Linked DNA regions of Homo sapiens: all the other regions are linked to region 6. Evidence: promoter capture Hi-C in 16 types of primary human blood cells and fetal thymus (Javierre and others, 2016). All regions are on one chromosome and are shown on one strand. The core of a region is centred on a gene start or on the middle of the fragment in contact, and the rest is flanking DNA. Distances in the headings are between cores, read along the strand shown.

Region 1 (2,722 bases), core at 168-2,667, 920 kb after region 6:
CCAACATGTCCAGCAGTGGTCTACAGAGGGCAGGATGCTGGGAATGGCTACTTTCCTAGACAATTTTATTCTGACCTTGCTTAGAATTGGTAGTGCATGATGATAATAAAAATTTGTCTTTTAATCAGTTTCATTATGACCCTTCATTGTTATCTACTATAGATAACATGGCCTCCTATTGCCTGCAGACCCTTTCTTGCCACCGGCCCTTCGTTCATCACTGATGCCCAGGTCTGTGCTTCAAAGTTCCTCTTTGAAGCAAACATAAAAGCACAAAAATAATGTGGATGACCAGAGTAAAAGAACCAGAAAGAAGCTAAAAAATCAAGTTAAACCTCTTTATCTTTTAGAAGAAAATGAGGTCCAGATGAGTGAATGACTCAGGTGAGGCCACCAAACCCAGGAACGGCAGGGCTGGGTCTGGAATCCAGTTCTCCTGACTCCCAGTTAGCCTTAGGGAGAAAGTTCCATTTTCTCTACCTTTCCACACTGAATCACAAAAAGCAATTTAGTGATATCTACGTAAGTGAATGTCACATGGAGACCTACATTGCCCATCAAGAAACCACAGGTATTTTAGGGGAGGAGGTGGAAAGAATGACTTGATCAATCTCTGTTTTCTTCCTGTTGTGGAGTCAAAGGGTTCAGTGTTTAAGGACTTTTAGAGATAAACACATTCCTTTATTTTTATGTCATCCATTGTTCCTTGGCAATACTTTCAAATAATTATGAAGGATCAATTTTGTATTCTGCAGTTCTTAAAATCCCAAGCTATATTTTCTGAAGGGTGTGTTTGTGTGTGTAAACCATAACTATTTGCATAGGGCATTGTGATGTATCATGGGAAATATATTCAAAATTTATATATGTGATTTAAAAACCTCAGGCAACAAAATATATGGGGTTAGAAAATGGAGACATGGAAAATAAGAGGAGAATGAACCTGGGATATTACTTTGAGAACTTACTCTCCCACTACCCTGGTGTTCAAAGTTGGATACACTACAAGTCATGTTTTAAATATAAAATTAAAGCTTCTTATTTTAAGAAACGCCATGGGAAAGCTTTACTTAATATTTTTGAGAGGCAAAGAATTAGTCTCTCATTTATGTATTTTGCAAATCCAAGTTTTCTTACATTGGATTTGCGTTTAATGGAAATGTATTGGTATAAAGTGAATCACATGTATAATACATCACAAAAAAGGTAAGGCAACAAAAATAATGTCATGGATTTTTTTTTTCTTTAGATAGAGTTTCACTCTGTTGCCAAGGCTGGAGTGCAGTGATGCTATCTCGGCTCACTGCAACGTCTGCCTCCCAGGTTCAAGCAATTCTCACATCCCAGCCTCCCAAGTAGCTGGGATTACAGGCATGCGCCACCTCACCTGGCTATTGGCCAGGCTGGTCTTGAACTCCTGGCCTCAAGTGATCCACCCACCTCAGCCTCCCAAAGTACTTGGATTATAGGCGTGAGCCACTGCGCCCGTCCAGTGTCATGGATCTTGATACTGAATGTTTGTTGTGGTTAAAAAATGCAGAGCTAAAACTTTAAAAAAAATTAATCTGTGGCATCAACTCCTGCCTAACTCCAGACAACGTGGGCTTTTGCAGGAAACACTCTGAGTTCATTCTCAGTCTTCTACCTACCAGAGTTTCATGACAATTAAACAAGATAGCATCTTGTGAGGTCAGTGAACCTCAATAAGCTAGAAATTGTCTTGTAGTTGAAGATGAACTTTGCTTGGATCTATACCATCTTGAATCTAGACAAGCTTAGCAGAATCAGACATACCTAACAGATTTTATCTAACACAGTTGGATTCCTTTGGGAGACAAGAAACACTACTTCATCTGACTGTCCATTTAGTGGTGAACAATTCTACCCAATTATGTCAATCATTACTAGTTCTTTCTTTTTTAGTTGATGAATACTCTTTTTATAAAAAGCCACACGTAGGGTATACAGAACAAGCTCTTACCTCTCTTGAAGTCCTATGGGCTTCATTTTGAAAGGAGAAGGGCAAACAGAGGTAGCGGTGGTAGCTTTGATCTCAGGAGCACCTCGGCCTTGAGGGTCCACGACAACATTCAGTACCTTTGGGGCCTGCTCAGGTTGGACCATGCTGTGGACTGTCTTTGCCTCGGACAGTGCTGGCTGTAATGTGATGGGCGATAGGTGGATCTCCTGGTTTTTCTCTTTGTCTTGTCTTAAGGAAAGCTGAAATCTTTCTTTTAATCTGTAAAGAATCTATAGAAGGAGATATAAAAAACTCCTGTCACATTTTCTCACACTAAACAAGAGTATGATCTCCTCCACCCCACCCTGGCCGACAAACCAAAATAAAGGCTTAACGATAAAGTAAACAAAGCCCTCTGAGAGATGATTTCTCAGTTTCATGGTATTGAGATTTTTCTCAAGACAGTACACTTGGTATTTCCAGTTATGCTGCACATATGTATCAAATAATTGTGCACATGAATCTGTTCCACAAAGATATATTCAAAAGTAAATTTAACCAATTTTATGAAAAATGCCAGATGTTAGTTTGGTCACATGGGGAAATGGTAGGCTTACAGAAGGAATAACCGTAAAACACACGTCTATGACATTTATAGAAATGGAGATATACATCCAACATGGCTTAGTAGAAAAAAGTAGTCTTGCAAGTATTAATAAAATAATAGTTATGCCATAAACCACAGTTTCTTATGTTGGTAAA
Region 2 (2,735 bases), core at 153-2,652, 760 kb after region 6:
TGAACATGTGATAATAATATAAATTATAATATATATATTAAAAAATAATGATAATAACAACAACTACTGAAGGCCTACTATGTGCCAGTTATGAGCTATATGTCTCATAAAGGTTACATTATTTGACACCCATTCAGAACTCTATAAAGTTGACTTTATTATTCCATTTATTAACAAGGAAACCAAGGATCATAAAATGTAAGTAATTTAGCCTATATCACAGTGCTAACAAATAGCCAACCTGGAACTGAAAGCTAGATTTATCTAACCCCTAAGCCTGTGTCCTTTTCCTAATTAACAACATTTATTTCTTCCAACTTATCATTTAACAAATCTTATACACAGATCTTGAAGTTGGCACTTGGTCAACATACATTCTTCTTTGTGCCTCTTTCCTGAATTACAATAATCAAAGGGACTGGAACCTTGGCACCCCTCTTTCTCAAAGTTCATTGACTTCTGGATTAAGATACAAAAGCGTTCATTAAAAAAATCCTACTGTATATGGATCAGATTCAATTCTAAAGATTCAATTATAATTCTAAATTTTATATGAAAGGCAAACAGCTACAGTGGCCAAAGCAATTTTGAAAAAGATGAATAAAGTTAGAGGACTAACACCACCTGATTTCACTAAAAATCTTGTAATCAAGACAGGATAATACTGGCAAAGGGCAGACAGAAACATAGATTGATAGAACAGAATTGAGAGCCCAGAGATAGAAGAATATGCTATCAATGGATTTTTTAGAGATTCAAAGGCAATTTCATGGAGAAAAGATAGTCTTTTCAATACATAGAGGTAGAATTATCAGATGTCTATATGCAAAGAAAAAAACCTTCACCTATATCTCACATCATATATAAAAATTAACTCAAAATGGGTCGCAGACCTACATTTAAAACCTAAAACTATAACCTTCTAGGAGAAAACCTTTGTGACCTTGATTTAGGCAAATATTTTTAGATATGACACCACAGCATGATTTATGAAAGAAAAAAACTGATAAATTGGACATCAAAATGAAAAACCGACAGAAAACATTTTGACCAAGGACAAACAAACAATCCTATTTTAAAATCCAGCAAAATATTTGAACAAAAACTTCCCCAGAAAAGATAAATGGGTGACAAATAAGCTTGTGAAAGGATTCTCAAACCCATTAGACATTAGAAAAAGGCAAATTAAAACCACATGAGCTATCATTATCTTATTATAATGGCTATTCCATTAGAATGGCTAAATTTTAAAACAAACTGCTAATACCATGTACTACATGCTGAGAACACGGAGGAAGTGGAAATTTCATACATTGCTGGTGGGAATGTAAAATTTTACAATACTTTGGAAAGCAGTTTGGCAGTTTTCTACAAAGTTAAACATGCATTTACCATATGACCCAGCAATATGGGTGGTGGGGATGATAAAAATGACCTTAGGTCTAAAACAATGTCTTGGACTTCCCTTTCTGGCAGTATGATAGGCTAGATACCATGAAAATCCTTCTAATAAACACAACTATACATATTGGATAAAATGTGAAAATGTAAATGAATGACTTGTCAGGAATGTAAGAGATTCTCAAAGGCCAAAAAGTAAAGGATAGAGAGGTAATTGGATCATAAAGCGAACTGTTGTGTTGAGAGCACCTTTCAAATGCAAATGTAAGCTTTGATTTTATAGCACTGCAGGATATTGGAGAAAGGAGGTAAAGTGTAGATTTTTCCAGGCTGAAGAAACTCATAGCTGACCTTGCATAACATTGGAAAGGCTACATTCTAAGTATAAGTGAAATAAATAGTCTCTCTTTACTCCCCATACAACTTCAGCCTTCTTAATACTGGATGGAGAAAACGATTTCCTCTGAGAACTCATAACCTTAAGATAGTTTCAATGTGTTTGCAACCTGAATTTATAAAACCCAGGTGATCAAAGAACCTAAAGTTGACAATTTAGATTAAAGTAGGTCTGGTTTGATAGCAGTCTTGTGCACCTGAAAGAATCAAATGAAAATTCTTTCTGAAACTCACCTTCAAACATGGCCTTAAATAATTTCCACAGAATAAAATTCTAGGGAAAACAGGCTTACAGTAAAAAGAAATCACATACATTTAAAGAAATAAAGCAACATAAACAAAAGGCAGGAAAATCAAAAGACAACAGAACTTAACTCCTGAAGATTTCAGCTATTATAATTATCAGACATAGGATGGAAAATAAACATTGTTAATTTGCATATAACAATACAGGAGGGGAATGAAAATATAACTAAAGAGCAACAGAGCACAACATAAATTTGAAAGAGAGCCAAAGAGAATGCTTAAAAGTGAACATAACAATTAAAATTTAAAACAGTGGGTAGATTTTAAAATAGATTAGACAAAGCTGAAGAAAGAATTAATGAAATGAATCAAAGATATGAGAAAGTTACCTATACTGTAGTTCAGAGAGAAAACACATGGAAAATATGAAATATATTGATGTGTTCATATATGTGTGTTCTAGAATACCAGAAGATGACAGAGTGGGGAATGGAGAAGGGGCAAGAGGCAATATTAGAGAGTTAATAGCTGAGAATTTCCAGGATTGTAGAAAGACACTAGTTGGAAAGTACAGAAATGCCAATCAATCTTGAGCAAGAGAAACAAAAAGAAATATATCTACACCTTGATCATTATTGTGAAACAACTGAACCCCAAAGGCAAAAAAGCAGTCATAGCAAACAGACTCATAG
Region 3 (2,700 bases), core at 145-2,644, 720 kb after region 6:
ATGAGTTTGTAAGTGGAGAATATGAAATAGAATAAAGCAAATCATACAGTCCTGGAGATAACATAATAACATGAAAATATATACACTAGCTATTGTTTATGAATGCCTAGTACTCAACATGCATTAGCCCTGATCCCCACAACAGCCCCACAAGGGAGGTGGTGGTCTCACTATTTTACAGGTGAGGCTCAGTCAGGATAACTGATGTGCCCCAGGTCACCCAAGTGGCAAACCTGAGAATCAGTTCCAAAAGCTACGTGCTTTTTGCGAAACCACGGCATCTTCCAGCCAAGCAAATGGCCAGGCTGAATATCTGACAGCTTTAGGTCTGCATTTGAGATTTGTTAATTCTTCCTTACTATCTGATCCAGGTAGCCCTTGGTTTGCTGTGTTATTCTGGAGCTCAAGCTGGCCTCTAAGATTAGATGGTATATTCTATTCAGGGCATAGTTTAGGCATAAAAGAGTGCTCAGCTGAGATTCTAAGCAGCCTCCTAACTTCTGAGCTCAATCAGCCTATGATGACACAGTAAACATTAGGAAGGAAATTCTGCTAAGAACTAGGGATGCTGAAGCTTCATTCTGCCTGAGTTGTACCTCGTATTCCTTGGATAGAAGGTAGTTGGAGTCAGCCTGTAGCTTCATGAAATGCCCTTCAAACTGATTTATTTTTATTGGACTGTAATTAAAAATGAAACAAACAGAAAAGAGTTACTGCAGAAAAGGGAAAGTGCCATAACTATTCTGACTCATATTTCAAAGGCAGATAATATAGTAATTAATGTGTTCTCTCTCTTACCAAGAAGTTTTCCGGTTACTGTGAAGAGAAGCCAAAAGAGGAAGACTTTGTTAGCAAATTTCACATAATACCATCTTTCAACAAATTATACGAAGGCAAATGTGGTGCTTACCCTTTCTGGCCCAGGTTTAAGTGGACAGATAATGGTCGATCCCTACGAATGCTCAGACGGGCAGAGGGTCTTTCTCGACCATGGCTGAAACATAAGGGAGATAACTTTTATTCTGATTATGATACTTGGCTTGAACAAATTTTTCCATTTATGGTAAGGCTGTGGATGTTTGTGCAAATATGGATTTTTCAGTATTCATACAGATTTGCACTCAGCCAACATCTCTGAGGGAGGGAAAGGAAAGAGAATAAAGTAGATCATTCCCACCCAGAAACGGATCTCTGCAAAAACTGAAGATTTGTCTCCTGGTTTTTGGCTACAGGTTATAATCACTTCCCACATTCTCAATAAAACTTTGCTTTAAAAAAATCCAGTAAATTTCAGATGCCAGACACGACTTCAATAAAGAGGAACATGTGCCAAATTAAGAAAAAAAATTCACTAAGAGAAGAAGGCACGACACTTGGGGCCACATGCTATTTGGTTCTTTTTGGTCCCTTCTTAAATTAGGATGGCAGATATGAACTACAAAATGGTGATGTCAACCACACTTTTCAGGATATTTCAGAAAAGCACTTGGGCATGCAATTTGCAAACATCTCTGTCTTCATGAGGATATGAACCACACACACACACAAAATATTTTTTTCCTGTGCAAAAGGAGTCACTTCATCTTTAAATAAAGCTATAGATGGCCCCTCAGTCCTTTGGTAAGGGCTGAATTCATCAATGGGATATAAAAGAGCTGAGAAAAGTGAGTCATGGCTTTAGAGTTTGACTTGTTTTTATTGAGAAAACAGTGACAATTTAACCTGGAAAAATTAAATTATTTTCCCTTCTTAGTTTTCAGCCTAAAGGGAATTTTCAGTTGCATTTTTAAAGTTGTGGGTCCAATCACCAAAAGGATCTTTGTACTTACCTCACTTTCTGTCTGCAGATCAATAAGGCAACAACAGCCACTAGCATGCCAATTAAAAACAGACCAGCACTCACACCTTCAATAGCTCCAAACAAGGGCTCTACAATAATCCAGATAGAAACAACAAACGCAGGTGGGAAAATTAGTGCTAGGGAACCAGTAAGAAAGCTATTGAAGCCATATCTCCCAAGTAATGTTATTACAAATAGAATTCAAGTGATGCCCACGATGAGGCATTTACTTTCCAAAGGCTCTGAGTATGCACCTAAGAAGATGATGAAAGGCTGGCTCCCACCCTGTAGCAGTGAGGCCAGGTGTCACTGCATACTTTTGAAGTTAATGTTGCATAGCTTATAGAGGAATTTTGGACTTTGCACTTGTATATAAAGCTTGGGGCACCTGAGATAAAGGCCATAAGTTTGCCACCAAGATAAAAATGCCATTTCATTTATATAAAACATGTTACACAGCATCTGGGGCTTTGGAAAATCCAGTGGATTGCTTGGAGCTATTCTAAGAAGTCTTATTTTTATTATCTGGTATGGTAACGCTACTGGGAGTTTATGAAGAGGTAAGAGTGGCCTCATTTTTAAAATAGCTTTATTGAAATATCATTCATATAGCATGCAACTCACCCATCTAAGTTGTACAATTCAGTGGTCTTTAGTATAGTCAAAGTTTTGCAAATGTCACCACAATCAATTTTAAAACATTTTCATCACCCTCAAAAGAAACCGCGTACCTATTAGCAGTCAGTCCCACTCCTCCCTCCCCGCGATCCCTGGCAACCACTAATCTACTTTCTGTGTCTGTGGATTTGCCTATTCTGGATGTTTCATAGAAATGAAATCATAAATCTGTGATCTTTTGG
Region 4 (2,749 bases), core at 36-2,535, 790 kb after region 6:
CTATATGTTCACAAAATAGCAACATGGTCTTTTTGTGCACAAAATGGAAAACAATGCAAATCGCCCATCACTAAAAGAAAATGAAAGAGAATAAAAATCCTTGAGATTTTCAGGCTGGTGGGGTCCAGTGAATTGTAGACCATCTTTATGCTATTGGCACATGGTAGTCCACTTTAACTGGCAAATTAAGAAAACTATAGTCCATGTTAGAATTAGGCTTGAAAGATGTTAATTATAAATTAAGTTCTTTTGAAACGTATCCTCCCCACAATATGTTATTTCCCAAGTGGCCTTTTTTGTAGCATCAGCAGTCTCAGAGTCTGTTTATATAGTATCCATTCACACTAGTCAATCTAGGAGTCGAGATGAAGGATCAGAGGATGGTTTCCTTTCCCCCTCTCCCCCGCTACTTCTTTGCCCTCCTCCCTCCAGGCATTTGCCTCAGTGAAGGGGAATTTTTTCCCATCTTTAGTTCTGGCTACAGAACAGTAGTAGCAGCGGGGTGTCTCCCCTGCATACTTTAAGTGACCCCAATATAGGAGGTTATCCCAGACTTGCAGGGGGTGGAGTTTTCTGCATTTGCAGGGGTGGGGTGTTTTCTGCATTTGCCTCCTCATTTATCTGGAGACTCACACTGGGCTGTGATCTCTTTGAAGGCCAAATAGAAGGAAACACAAAACTGTGAAAGCCCAGACCAGTACCACAATGGCTATTCATGAACTGAGGAAATGCAATCCTTCTCCCAGGCCGGAGCAAGGGTGGGTGGGCAGGGAAAGATTTAGAGATATTTAGCAGTATCAGAACCAGCCAGTAACATTTCTAATGCATGTTCTGCATTTTATCCCTTTCAAAGTATTTTCACATAATATGTTGACTCATCTGGTTTTTAACACCCTGTGAAGAAGGCAAGGTAGGAATGATGAAGCAGGAACAAGGAGAAGCTAGTATTAATAGCTAAAACTATTGAATATTTATCATGTATAGCCAGTGTTCTTGTTTGTTTTTTGTTTGTTTGTTTGTTTTGAAACAGGGTCTCATTCTGTCATCCAGGCTGGAGTGCAGGGGCATGATCACAGCTCACTGCAGCCCTGGCCTCCTGGGCTCAAATGATCCTTCTGCCTTAGCCTCCCCAGTAGCTGGGATCACAGGCACGCACCACCATATCTGGGTAATTTTTAATTTTTTTATTTTTTCTTGCAGAGACAGGGTTTTGCCCTGTTGCCCAGGCTGGTCTCGAACTCCTGGGCTTGAGTGATCTGCTCACCTCGGCCTCCCAAAGTGCTGGGATTATAGGTGTAAACCACTGCATCAGGCCTAGCCAGTATTCGAAAACATTTTACTTAATCAGAATTTAATCCTGTCTTATGAGGCAGAGTGAGTACCCATAACTATCCTTAAGTTAAAGAAGAAATGAGTGGGACTTGAGTAACTAGTAGATATCACCACTGGGATTTAAGCCAGGTTTCTCTGACACAGAGTCCCAGCTTCTGATTTATTAGGTCTAGAATAGGGTCCAAGTGGTTGCATGTCTAATAAGTTCTGGGACTAGGGTCCATACTTGGCGAACAATTGATCAAAGTATTTCCTGACTCATACCATAGACAAGTTTCCTGTTCTATCGATTTTGTCCTTGTGAAGACACGCAATCCACATAATACTATTTATAAAAGTGACAATAACAACAATGGCAGCTAAAATTAATTAAACACTATTTTACTATCATTCAGGCACTACTCTAGGCCTATGATATGTGTTAATTCATTTACTGCTCAGGGTTGGGGGCTAGAAGAGAGAGAGCACCACAGAGTTTTGAGGTCAAGTACCGGCCCAAGTATACAAACTTCCAAAGTCAGACCCCTCACACTGGCAGGTAAGGATGTGAGAAGAGAGAGAGAAAAGGAGAACGGCAGGGAATACTCTGATCCCCAATAGCCAACATAGGACAATCTTGCAGTAGCATTAGAGAGGAGTGATTGCTGGATTTCAAATCATGTCCTCCTTGGCATTTACCTTTATTATCAGGCACACTATGTAAGAGAATATGTGACTAGATGTTTAGGGGAGTGTGTGTGTGTGTGTGTGTGTGTGTGTGTGTGTGTATACTCTTCTTGGTCTGTTATTCCCTAGTCATTTAATCTTGGGCAAGTTCCTTTTTAAGTTTCAGCTGGGTATCTATAAAACAGAGATAGTGGGTGGTGGTGGTGATGATGATGATGATGATAATGATAATGATAATGATAATGATGATACTATGGTAGATTGCTTAATGGTCACAGATTCCTCCCACTCAATATGCACGCTCCTTTACAATGTGACTTTGCAGCTCTTCCCATCAAGAAATGGAATCTATTTCTACACTCCCTGAATCTAGCCTGGTTTGAGAGTTGCTTTGATCAATAGAATATCGCAGAAGTGATGTTGCATGGTTCCAGAGCCTCGGCCTCAAAAGGCTTGTAGCTTCCACCTTTGACTTCTGGTGAGGCTGCCCTAACCCATCATGAAAAGGAAGCTGGTGTAGCCTACTGGCAGATAAGAGGCCATGTGGAGGAGAACCTAGACTCCCCAGCCTACACCCAGCACTGACTGCTAGTCATGCAAGTGAACCCTAACCCTAACCCATCGGTCATCACAAACCAGATGCTGTCTGATAAGGAAAACAATGGACACATAGAGATTTTATTTTTACACAATTCCAAGCAATTAAGTCAAATGATTTTACTCCTTTCTTATACTTTTCTAGGCATCCTCT
Region 5 (2,700 bases), core at 168-2,667, 770 kb after region 6:
TGGAGTCAGAATTAAATTTAAATCTCAGCTCTAACAAAGTCATGAGACTTTGGGCAAGCTATTTAACCTGTCTAAGCCTCCACTTTCCTATCTGGGGAGTATAATAATAATACTTATATTCCAAGGCAGTTTTGAAAAGTAACAAGATATAGAGGAGTCTATGAGATTCTAATAGCCAGTGAAACTCAAGAACAATGCTGTCGTACCCAATTGAGATGACATACTTTTGCTGAAGTGGCATTTTAAGGACAAGGATGAGAGGGACAGCTGCTTCCAGTGATAGTTCAAAAGGGATCAATACTATCATCTACATGTACTATCAAGCCAGATAAAAATTTTAAAAAATAATGTCATGATCAGTAGAATCCAAACATATATAATCCACAAAATATGAGATATAGAAATAAATTTTAAGGTTGCGTGTCTAGAGGGTGAAGTTCAGAAATGCAGACTTTATCTAATCTTTCTGAGCCAGAAAACAAAACAGTCAATCCTTTGTACATCCGCTAGAACAAAGGAACAATGAGACTGGGAAGTGCCTGGGCTGCGAGAACCTGCACTGGAAACAAACACTTAAAACCCCATTTATACTGTGATAAAGCCCTTTGCTGGCAGTTGTCCACTATTGCTATGCATGCTGCAGAAACTAAATAGTTTTCAGACTCCCTTTAAATCTAAGCCCAATAAAAACTCTGATGGATTTAAAAAGTTTTCAAAATTTTATTAGATACTTCTATCAGGGGTGCACATTTCATATAATATGACTGTGTGTGTATGTATTAAATATATGTATATAGATATATATATGGAGAAAGAGAAAATTTTTAATGCTACTTGAAAATTTAGTCATGTACCTATAGTCTTCTGATCATATGACAGATCGTACATAATTAGGAAATCCTACTTGACTTATATAATTTATGTGAATGGTTAAAGGTATCAATGCACAGATGTGTGCATTTATAGCCTCTGGTTTTTCCAATCATCACACTCATACGCATAGTAACCAGTGAAGTATTATAAAATATGAGAACTAATAATAAATCAAATCAAAAAATAATAAATCAAAGCTTTAGTCTTGATTAATATATCAATATTTATCATTAGCCATAAATTTAGAGCACTTTGTAATTCTTGGTTCCCAACAGACCTGAAATATGGAATGACAAATGCATAGTCAAAATGAATAACAACAGTAAGTTCTATAATATTCATTGTATATACTTGAATAAATCTACCAGCACCAGAAAGCCCCAGAGTTCCATAAGCAGGCTTGACGTCAACACAATTTTTCTTTTCTCAAAAGAAAAGACAAAGTATGGCAAAATTCCTGAACCAAAATGAATTCTTTTTTCCTTTTCTTTTTTTTAAATGTGACTTAGGAAGCCAAGTGTGATGATGTGTGCCCTTAGTTCCAGTTACTCAGGAGGCTGAGGCAGGAGGGTTGCTTGGGTCCAGGTATTGGAGGCTATAGTGCATCATAATAGTGCCTGTGAATAGCTACTGCACTTCAGCCTGGGCAACATAGAAAGACCCTGTTTTTTTTTTTTTTTTAATGTTATTTAGAAAGAGAAAGAAAGCTATATTTATAGCACAAATGATATTTGCTTCTTAATTGTTTTTGTGACAGCATGGTCATTAAAACATTAGTATTTATTGATATAGAAATGTCTAGACTCTTTAGAATTAGAAGTGATTGTATTTGCTATAGAAATAAATTCAACCTTATAACAAAAAGGGCAGCCAATCCATGAGTTGGTGCCAAAAGCTTTTCTTAAAGGCACGACAGCACCACATTACATCTGTATAGGACCTGATAATCTACAACATGCTTTCTCAGTTGGAATAGGGGCTCAGAGACATTAAATGACTCACTCGTGTTGTATAGGAACAGGTAGTAAAGTTGAGCTTCCAATACCTGTCTCTAAATCCTGTTTTCTCTCTATCACACCTTAGCTGTCCTAGTGTGGGAAATGATGTCATGAATTGCATATTCAGTGTAATGACAAAAAATAAAAATAGATGTCTACGGAAAATGATAGGCATATTTATAGAATTTTTCAGATGTTGGTTTGCTACTGTAGCATAGTCAAAATGAGTAACAACAGTAGTAACAGCTAAATCTAATTCTGTGAGCATGAAAGTTCCCTTTTCGAAAATAATATTTTTCTTGCCTGTTCCCTTTTTTCCTTATTTTATTGCCTTTACCTGGAGTCCCTTCATTTTGTGTTGGATTACTTTGAAAGCCTTCTAAGTGTCTTCCTTATTTTCTTTTGAGACAGGGCCTTGCTCTGTCACCCGGGCTGGAGTCCAGTGACGTGATCATGGCTCACTGCAGTCTCAACCTCCTGGGCTCAAGTGATTCTCCCACCTCAGCCTCATGAGTAGCCAGGACCACAGGTGCACACCACCATGCCCAGCTAATTTTTGTATTTTCTTTTTTTTTTGAGATGGAGTCTAGCTCTGTCGCTGAGGCTGGAGTGCAGTGGCATGATCTCGGCTCACTGCAACCTCCGCCTCCTGGGTTCAAGCGATTCTCCTGCCTCAGCCTCCTGAGTAGCTGGGATTACAGGCGCCTGCCACCACGCCCAGCTAATTTTTATATTTTTAGTAGAGATAGGGTTTCATTGTGTTGGCCAGGCTGGTCTCGAACTCCTGACCTCGTGATCCACCCGCCTTGGACTCCCAAAGTGCTGGGAT
Region 6 (2,700 bases), core at 1-2,500:
GGGTATGGATATATATATATATATATATACATTCAGAATCTACCACTATAGGTAGTGAATGCAAAGGAGGATAGCAGAGGCTGGGAAGGGTAATAGGGGTTAGGGGGTGAGGGGATAAAGAGGGGTTGGGTAATGGGTGCAAAAATATATAGAAGGAATATGATCTAGTGTTTGGTAGCACAATAGGGTAAATACAGTTAACAATAATTTATATTTCACAATAAAGGAGTGGATTTGGAATGTTCCCAACATAAATGATAAATGATAAATGTTTGAGGTGATGGATACCCCAATTACCCTGATTTGATCATTACACATTGTATGTTTGTATCAAAATATATGTACCCCATAAATATGTACAACTATTGTGTATCCATAAAAATTAGAAATAAACTATATATATAAAAACTATATGGATATATATATAAACAAACTATATATGGATATATATATATCCATATCCTTCCACACACATATCCATATCCACACACATATCCATATCCACTGCTACCACTCTGTCTCATATATATATGTATATATGTATATATATATGTATATATATGTATGTGTATATATATATATATATGAGAGAGTGTCAATAATTGGTAAGTGTAGATGAAGAGTATATGGATATTTTATGATACTATTTTTTTTCCAAATAGTTGGGAAAAAAGAAAAGGAAGGGGCGAAAGGATAATTTAATTTCCTAATTGTATTTTCTTAGGCTATTGTTAAATGAATTATAGCTAAGCAGTGAAAACAAAACATTTATTCGGGTATGGTTTTATATTTAGGAGTGAATCAAGTTACTAGTGACTCAACTGTAAGAATTATTAAATTGGTAATGCAGTTTTCGTTGCTTGTTAGAGAGACTTCTCATACTTTATGGTTTATGCTTTGGAAGCAAATAAGCTCTAGAGGAAATGGAACAGGTATGTATTAAGGAATTTAAGTTTTTGCTGTAAGTTTGGAAATACTTAACAAATTCTAACTTTTCATTATCACAAGCCTTTTAAAATTACCTGTGATGATAGGTATCTATAAAAGTAATTATATTGATTTATCCCTTTTTTCTAGGTTAAAAAAATAAGTATGTTTTATTGGTGGTAGCTAAGTGGATCTAGTTGATAAAGGTGGAGATATAAATATATTGGTGTAAAAGGACAAATATGAGATAAGACTATGTATTTATTGCCCATTTATGTAATTGCATGTGTCACTAAGGACAAAGGTCCTTAAAGACGAAAAGCAGAGTAGAAACAGTTCCTTATATTAAGACAGATGAATTTGCTACCTCTTCCCTCTTCATGAATTTTTTTTAAATGTATGGTTGTATATCCTTCCAGTTTTATAATCACATTTGAAAACTCAACCATCTTTCTGGGCACAATTTGATGGCTGAAGATATGCTTCACTCCAATAAAAAGAAAATGAAGATTTTTCAAGAGCATTCGTAGGCTTCGAATCAAAAGGACAGTACTTATTTCCTGAGGTCTGATAACCGTTGTTTTATGAGGAAATAGTACTAGGATCACAGTACCATGGATGTGGTAGGCGAAAATGAGGCCCTGCAGCAGTTCTTTGAAGGTAAGAGGCCAATTTCCAGCATGAATTTGCTGCTTCTGAGAAATGCTCACTATCCCTGTTTCACCTTTTCCGTATTCACTTAAACTTTGTTTTGAAAGAAATGCTATCATACTTAGGTAACTCTCCTAATATCAAAAGTAGGGGTTTATTTGCTACATTGGGAGCAAAATTCAATGGTATGGATAGAGATTTTAAACAAAACAGGATTTTCATCTTATAGTTTGGTTGTTAGAATCAAGGGGTCAGCATATTTATGTTGTTATTACTTGTCCCTGTCCTGTACTAGATTTTATTTTTTCCCATGCCCTATGTTTAAAAAAACTACATAGCCATGCTCAAATTCCATGTGAAGGGAAACGTGACCATCATTTTTACACGGTAAGGTATTTTGCATGAGGGAGTATGAGAAGAAGTGAGGGAAGACCTGCTCATTTACAGAATCTAGGGATCAGTCAGCAGCACATCGAGAAAAGTGCTTTAGGTATTTCTTGTGCTTTGTAAAGTGCCTGACAAATAATATATATTTAAAAGTTGAATGGAATGGGCTGAATAGTAAACAATGCTGAACACTAAAGAGTGACGGGGCGTACCAAAGAAATAGTGAGATTCTATGTCACTATTGGGAGGAATCAACACCATGGGGTAGTTTCTGTGGCTTGGGTTTTTCCAGAAATGGCAAGAAGAAACATAAGACCAAGAGAATTATCACATTATCTTGTCCTACCATCCATCCCATTGAGTGTTCTGTCTCTGACAGTGGCCAAGTTGGTATTGTCTACCTGGGTCATGCTTGGCACATGGTAGGCACACTAGTGTTGCTAGACTGTTATTGCCTGATTTTATATCATATATAATTTTCGTTTGAGCAGCAGGTGGCAAGCTTCAATCTACCATTGCATCTATTTTAGAGAAACCAGCAATTTATTGTATACATGCAAAAATCTACTCCATTTCCTTCTAGAGCTAGGGAAGACCTGAATATCGAATTTGGTCTACCTTCTGTTTTTTGAAAGAGCTTTTATTTCTATGGGATCCCTATACTGTCCTTGTTTATACTATTTTTGGAGGTTTCTATGGATATAGTTTCTACAAGTCCCCTCTACAGCTTGTTAC
Region 7 (2,700 bases), core at 26-2,525, 740 kb after region 6:
ATGACTGCAGTCATGTCATGACCCCCATTACCTGTCCATCTGCATCCCCACCACTCATCCTCGCTCACTCTGTTCCAGCCATATGGGCCTCTTTACTGTTCCTCCAACAGGTCAGACACACACCCACTCAAGGTCTTTGTGTTGGCATTGGCTCTGCTTATAAATACCCAAATATTTGCATGACTTTCTCATTTCTTTCAGATTTTTACTCAAATGTCACTGCCTCAATGAAGTCTTTGGGGACTGTACTATCTAAAATTGTAAGTCCCGACCAGGTGCAGTGGCTCATGCCTGTAATCCCAGCACTTTGGGAGGCTGAGGAGGGTGGATCACCTGAGGTCAGGAGTTCAAGACCAGCCTGGCCAACATGGTGAAACCCTGTCTCTACTAAAAATATAAAAATTAGCCGGGTGTAGTGGTGCATACCTGTAGTCCCACTCGGTATGCACTCGGGAGGCTGAGGCAGGATAATTGCTTGAACCCAGGAGGTGGAGGTTGTGGTGAGCTAAGATCGCACCACTGCACTCCAGCTTGGGCAACAGAGGGAGACTCCATCTCAAAAAAAAAAAAAAAAAATTGTAAGCCCCTTGACCAGGCGTGGTGGCTCGTGCCTGTAATCCCAACACTTTGGGAGGTTGAGGCAGGTGGATTTCTTGAGCCCAGGAGTGCGAGACCAGCCTAGGCAATGTGGAGAAACCCTGTGTCTACAAGAAAATACAAAAATTAGCTGGGTGTGGTGGCACATGCCTGAAGTCCCAACTACTTGGGAGGTTGAGATGGGAGGATTGTTTGAGCCCAGGAGGCAGAGGTTGCAGTGAATTGAGATTGTGCCACTGCACTCCATCCTGGGTGCCAGAGCGAGGTTCTGTCTCCAAAAATAATAAATAATAATAATAATAATAATAATAATAATAATAATAATAATAATAAATAGATAGATAAAATTGTAAGCCCCAACTCTTGCTATCCCACCTTCCTAACTTAATTTCCTTCTTGGTCTTTATTACCACCCAACCTCCTACATCTTTTACTTATTTATTTTATTTATTGACTTTCTTCCCCACTAGACTATAAACATAATGACCATGGGAGTTTTTTTATTCACTTCTGTATATCCAGCAGTTAGAACAGTGCCTAGCCTATAGTAGGTACTCAATAATAAATGAATTGATAGGTGGATCTCCTCACTTCTGGTTCATTTCCATTCAATCCATTCCCCCATTGCTATCTGATTTATCTTTTTAAAGATACATCTTTTATTACAAAACAATTACTCTCTGGCTAAAAGTTTTGTATTGCTTTAAGATAAAATTCCTGAGGAAGGCTACCAGGCACCCTCTAATTTGGCTCCAATCTGGCTTTCAGTCTCACCTTTCCATCATGCAACACACATTTCAGCCACCCACAACTTCTCCTTTCTCCTGTTCATACCTCTTGGCCTTTGCACAGGACAGACTGTCTGTACAAAGTATTCTACCTTCTCTCCATAAGGAGAATTTCTTCATCCTTCAAGGCAGTACTGAAATGTCACTTTTATGAAGATGTCTCAATTCTACCTGACCTCCATGCTTCCCTGAATGCCAGACATCCCTCTCTTATATGTACTCTTTATCACAATGCATTGCCATTATTTGTCCATGTGTCTGTCTCGTCAGTCAGCTCTTTAAGGACGAGAAGCATGCCTGATTCATCTTTATGTCCCTGTCAACATAACCATCCCCGCCTTCAGACCTATGTACTTAATAAATAAGTTATCAATCAATTAGGCCAATGTGGTTGTCTGAATAATGGCCCCAAAGATGTCCATGTCCTAACCCCCAGAACCTGTGAATATGTTACCTTCTGTGGCAAAAAGGGCTTTGTAGATGTGATTAAGTTAAGGATCTTGAGACGAAGGAATTATCCTGGATTGTCCGGTTGGTGACCAAGGTAATCACAAGAGTCCTTAAAAGATGGAAGAGGGAGGCAGGAGAGCAGAGAAAGAGATGTAAGGTCCCATGCAGAGATTGGAGCAATGTCACTGTTGGGAGGGGGACACGAGCCAAGGAATGTGGGCGGCCTCAGAAGCTGAAAAAGGCAAGGAGTGGATTCTCCCTCTAAAGTGTCTACAAGAAACACAGCCCTGTTGTCTTGATTTCAGTCCCAAAAAACCATTTTCAGATTCTAATCTTCAGGACTAGAAAATAATAAATTTGGGTGGTATTAAGCCACTAAGATTGTGATAGTTTATTATAGCAGCAATAGGAAGCTAATAGCACCAATATTAATGAAAAATCAGAAACAGAGTGTGGTGGGCTGAGTCCTGCGTGGATAGGGCAACTGACATGGAAGTGGCAAATCAGGGTGAATGTTCCCAGCGTATCAAGAGATAGATATCATCTCCCAATGTTGCTTCATCCCTCTCACCCTGGGGTTCTTACACAATAGCAGACATTGGCAATATGTGCTACAAAACATTATGCTGTGCTAATTACCTGTTCGGCCTTCAGTCTGGGCTTCCTTGCTAAAGAGGCCTCCACTGACAGTTAGGATCTGTATCTTGTATTTCTTGCCTGGTGTTAGATCTTCAAATTTGTGTTGCTTAGTGGTGGCTGGCTCTGATGTGTTGCGCAGAAGGATTCCATTTTCAGTTAGAAGCAGGATATCATATCTTTCTGCCACACCAGCAGCTTTTTGCCAACTTACTATTAAGGAATAACT

The links. The method cuts DNA at HindIII sites, captures the fragments that hold promoters and counts their contacts. A CHiCAGO score of 5 or more calls a contact.
Region 1: a contact is called between a fragment that was not itself captured here and the fragment with the promoter of MYRFL in region 6, in 6 of 17 cell types (M0 macrophages, M2 macrophages, naive B cells and 3 more). The highest score is 6.7, in M0 macrophages.
Region 2: a fragment that was not itself captured here is called in contact with the fragment with the promoter of MYRFL in region 6 in 6 of 17 cell types (M2 macrophages, M0 macrophages, naive CD8 T cells and 3 more); the score reaches 9.8 in M2 macrophages.
Region 3: a contact is called between a fragment that was not itself captured here and the fragment with the promoter of MYRFL in region 6, in 3 of 17 cell types (M1 macrophages, M2 macrophages and M0 macrophages). The highest score is 6.7, in M1 macrophages.
Region 4: a fragment that was not itself captured here is called in contact with the fragment with the promoter of MYRFL in region 6 in 1 of 17 cell types (naive B cells); the score reaches 5.2 in naive B cells.
Region 5: a fragment that was not itself captured here is called in contact with the fragment with the promoter of MYRFL in region 6 in 1 of 17 cell types (monocytes); the score reaches 6.0 in monocytes.
Region 7: a fragment that was not itself captured here is called in contact with the fragment with the promoter of MYRFL in region 6 in 2 of 17 cell types (monocytes and naive CD8 T cells); the score reaches 6.4 in monocytes.

What each region holds. Positions count from the first base shown.
Region 1 is chr12:70,743,837-70,746,558 of GRCh38, forward strand. It overlaps PTPRR (protein tyrosine phosphatase receptor type R), which reads right to left. Exons shown (of 14, transcript NM_002849.4): 6 at 1,982-2,250. All of the region lies in intron 1 of LOC124902960 (a long non-coding RNA gene), which reads left to right. Among named protein-coding and RNA genes, the nearest start is that of PTPRB, 110 kb to the left of the region's middle. The HindIII fragment of the contact is 710 bases long and covers 1,063-1,772 here.
Region 2 is chr12:70,581,789-70,584,523 of GRCh38, forward strand. All of the region lies in intron 9 of PTPRB (protein tyrosine phosphatase receptor type B), which reads right to left. Among named protein-coding and RNA genes, the nearest start is that of PTPRB, 54 kb to the right of the region's middle. The HindIII fragment of the contact is 531 bases long and covers 1,138-1,668 here.
Region 3 is chr12:70,539,029-70,541,728 of GRCh38, forward strand. It overlaps PTPRB (protein tyrosine phosphatase receptor type B), which reads right to left. Exons shown (of 34, transcript NM_001109754.4): 23 at 1,830-1,929; 24 at 911-994; 25 at 799-816; 26 at 597-678. All of the region lies in intron 6 of PTPRB-AS1 (PTPRB antisense RNA 1), which reads left to right. Among named protein-coding and RNA genes, the nearest start is that of PTPRB-AS1, 72 kb to the left of the region's middle. The HindIII fragment of the contact is 1,644 bases long and covers 573-2,216 here.
Region 4 is chr12:70,617,095-70,619,843 of GRCh38, forward strand. All of the region lies in intron 3 of PTPRB (protein tyrosine phosphatase receptor type B), which reads right to left. Among named protein-coding and RNA genes, the nearest start is that of PTPRB, 19 kb to the right of the region's middle. The HindIII fragment of the contact is 3,466 bases long and covers 1-2,749 here.
Region 5 is chr12:70,598,439-70,601,138 of GRCh38, forward strand. The region is part of intron 4 of PTPRB (protein tyrosine phosphatase receptor type B); the gene reads right to left. Among named protein-coding and RNA genes, the nearest start is that of PTPRB, 38 kb to the right of the region's middle. The HindIII fragment of the contact is 698 bases long and covers 1,069-1,766 here.
Region 6 is chr12:69,823,977-69,826,676 of GRCh38, forward strand. It overlaps MYRFL (myelin regulatory factor like), which reads left to right and starts at 1,251. Exons shown (of 25, transcript NM_182530.3): 1 at 1,251-1,587. The coding sequence starts at 1,542. The HindIII fragment of the contact is 5,503 bases long and covers 1-2,465 here.
Region 7 is chr12:70,563,961-70,566,660 of GRCh38, forward strand. PTPRB (protein tyrosine phosphatase receptor type B) reads right to left here. Exons shown (of 34, transcript NM_001109754.4): 15 at 2,475-2,700. All of the region lies in intron 8 of PTPRB-AS1 (PTPRB antisense RNA 1), which reads left to right. Among named protein-coding and RNA genes, the nearest start is that of PTPRB, 72 kb to the right of the region's middle. The HindIII fragment of the contact is 7,249 bases long and covers 1-2,700 here.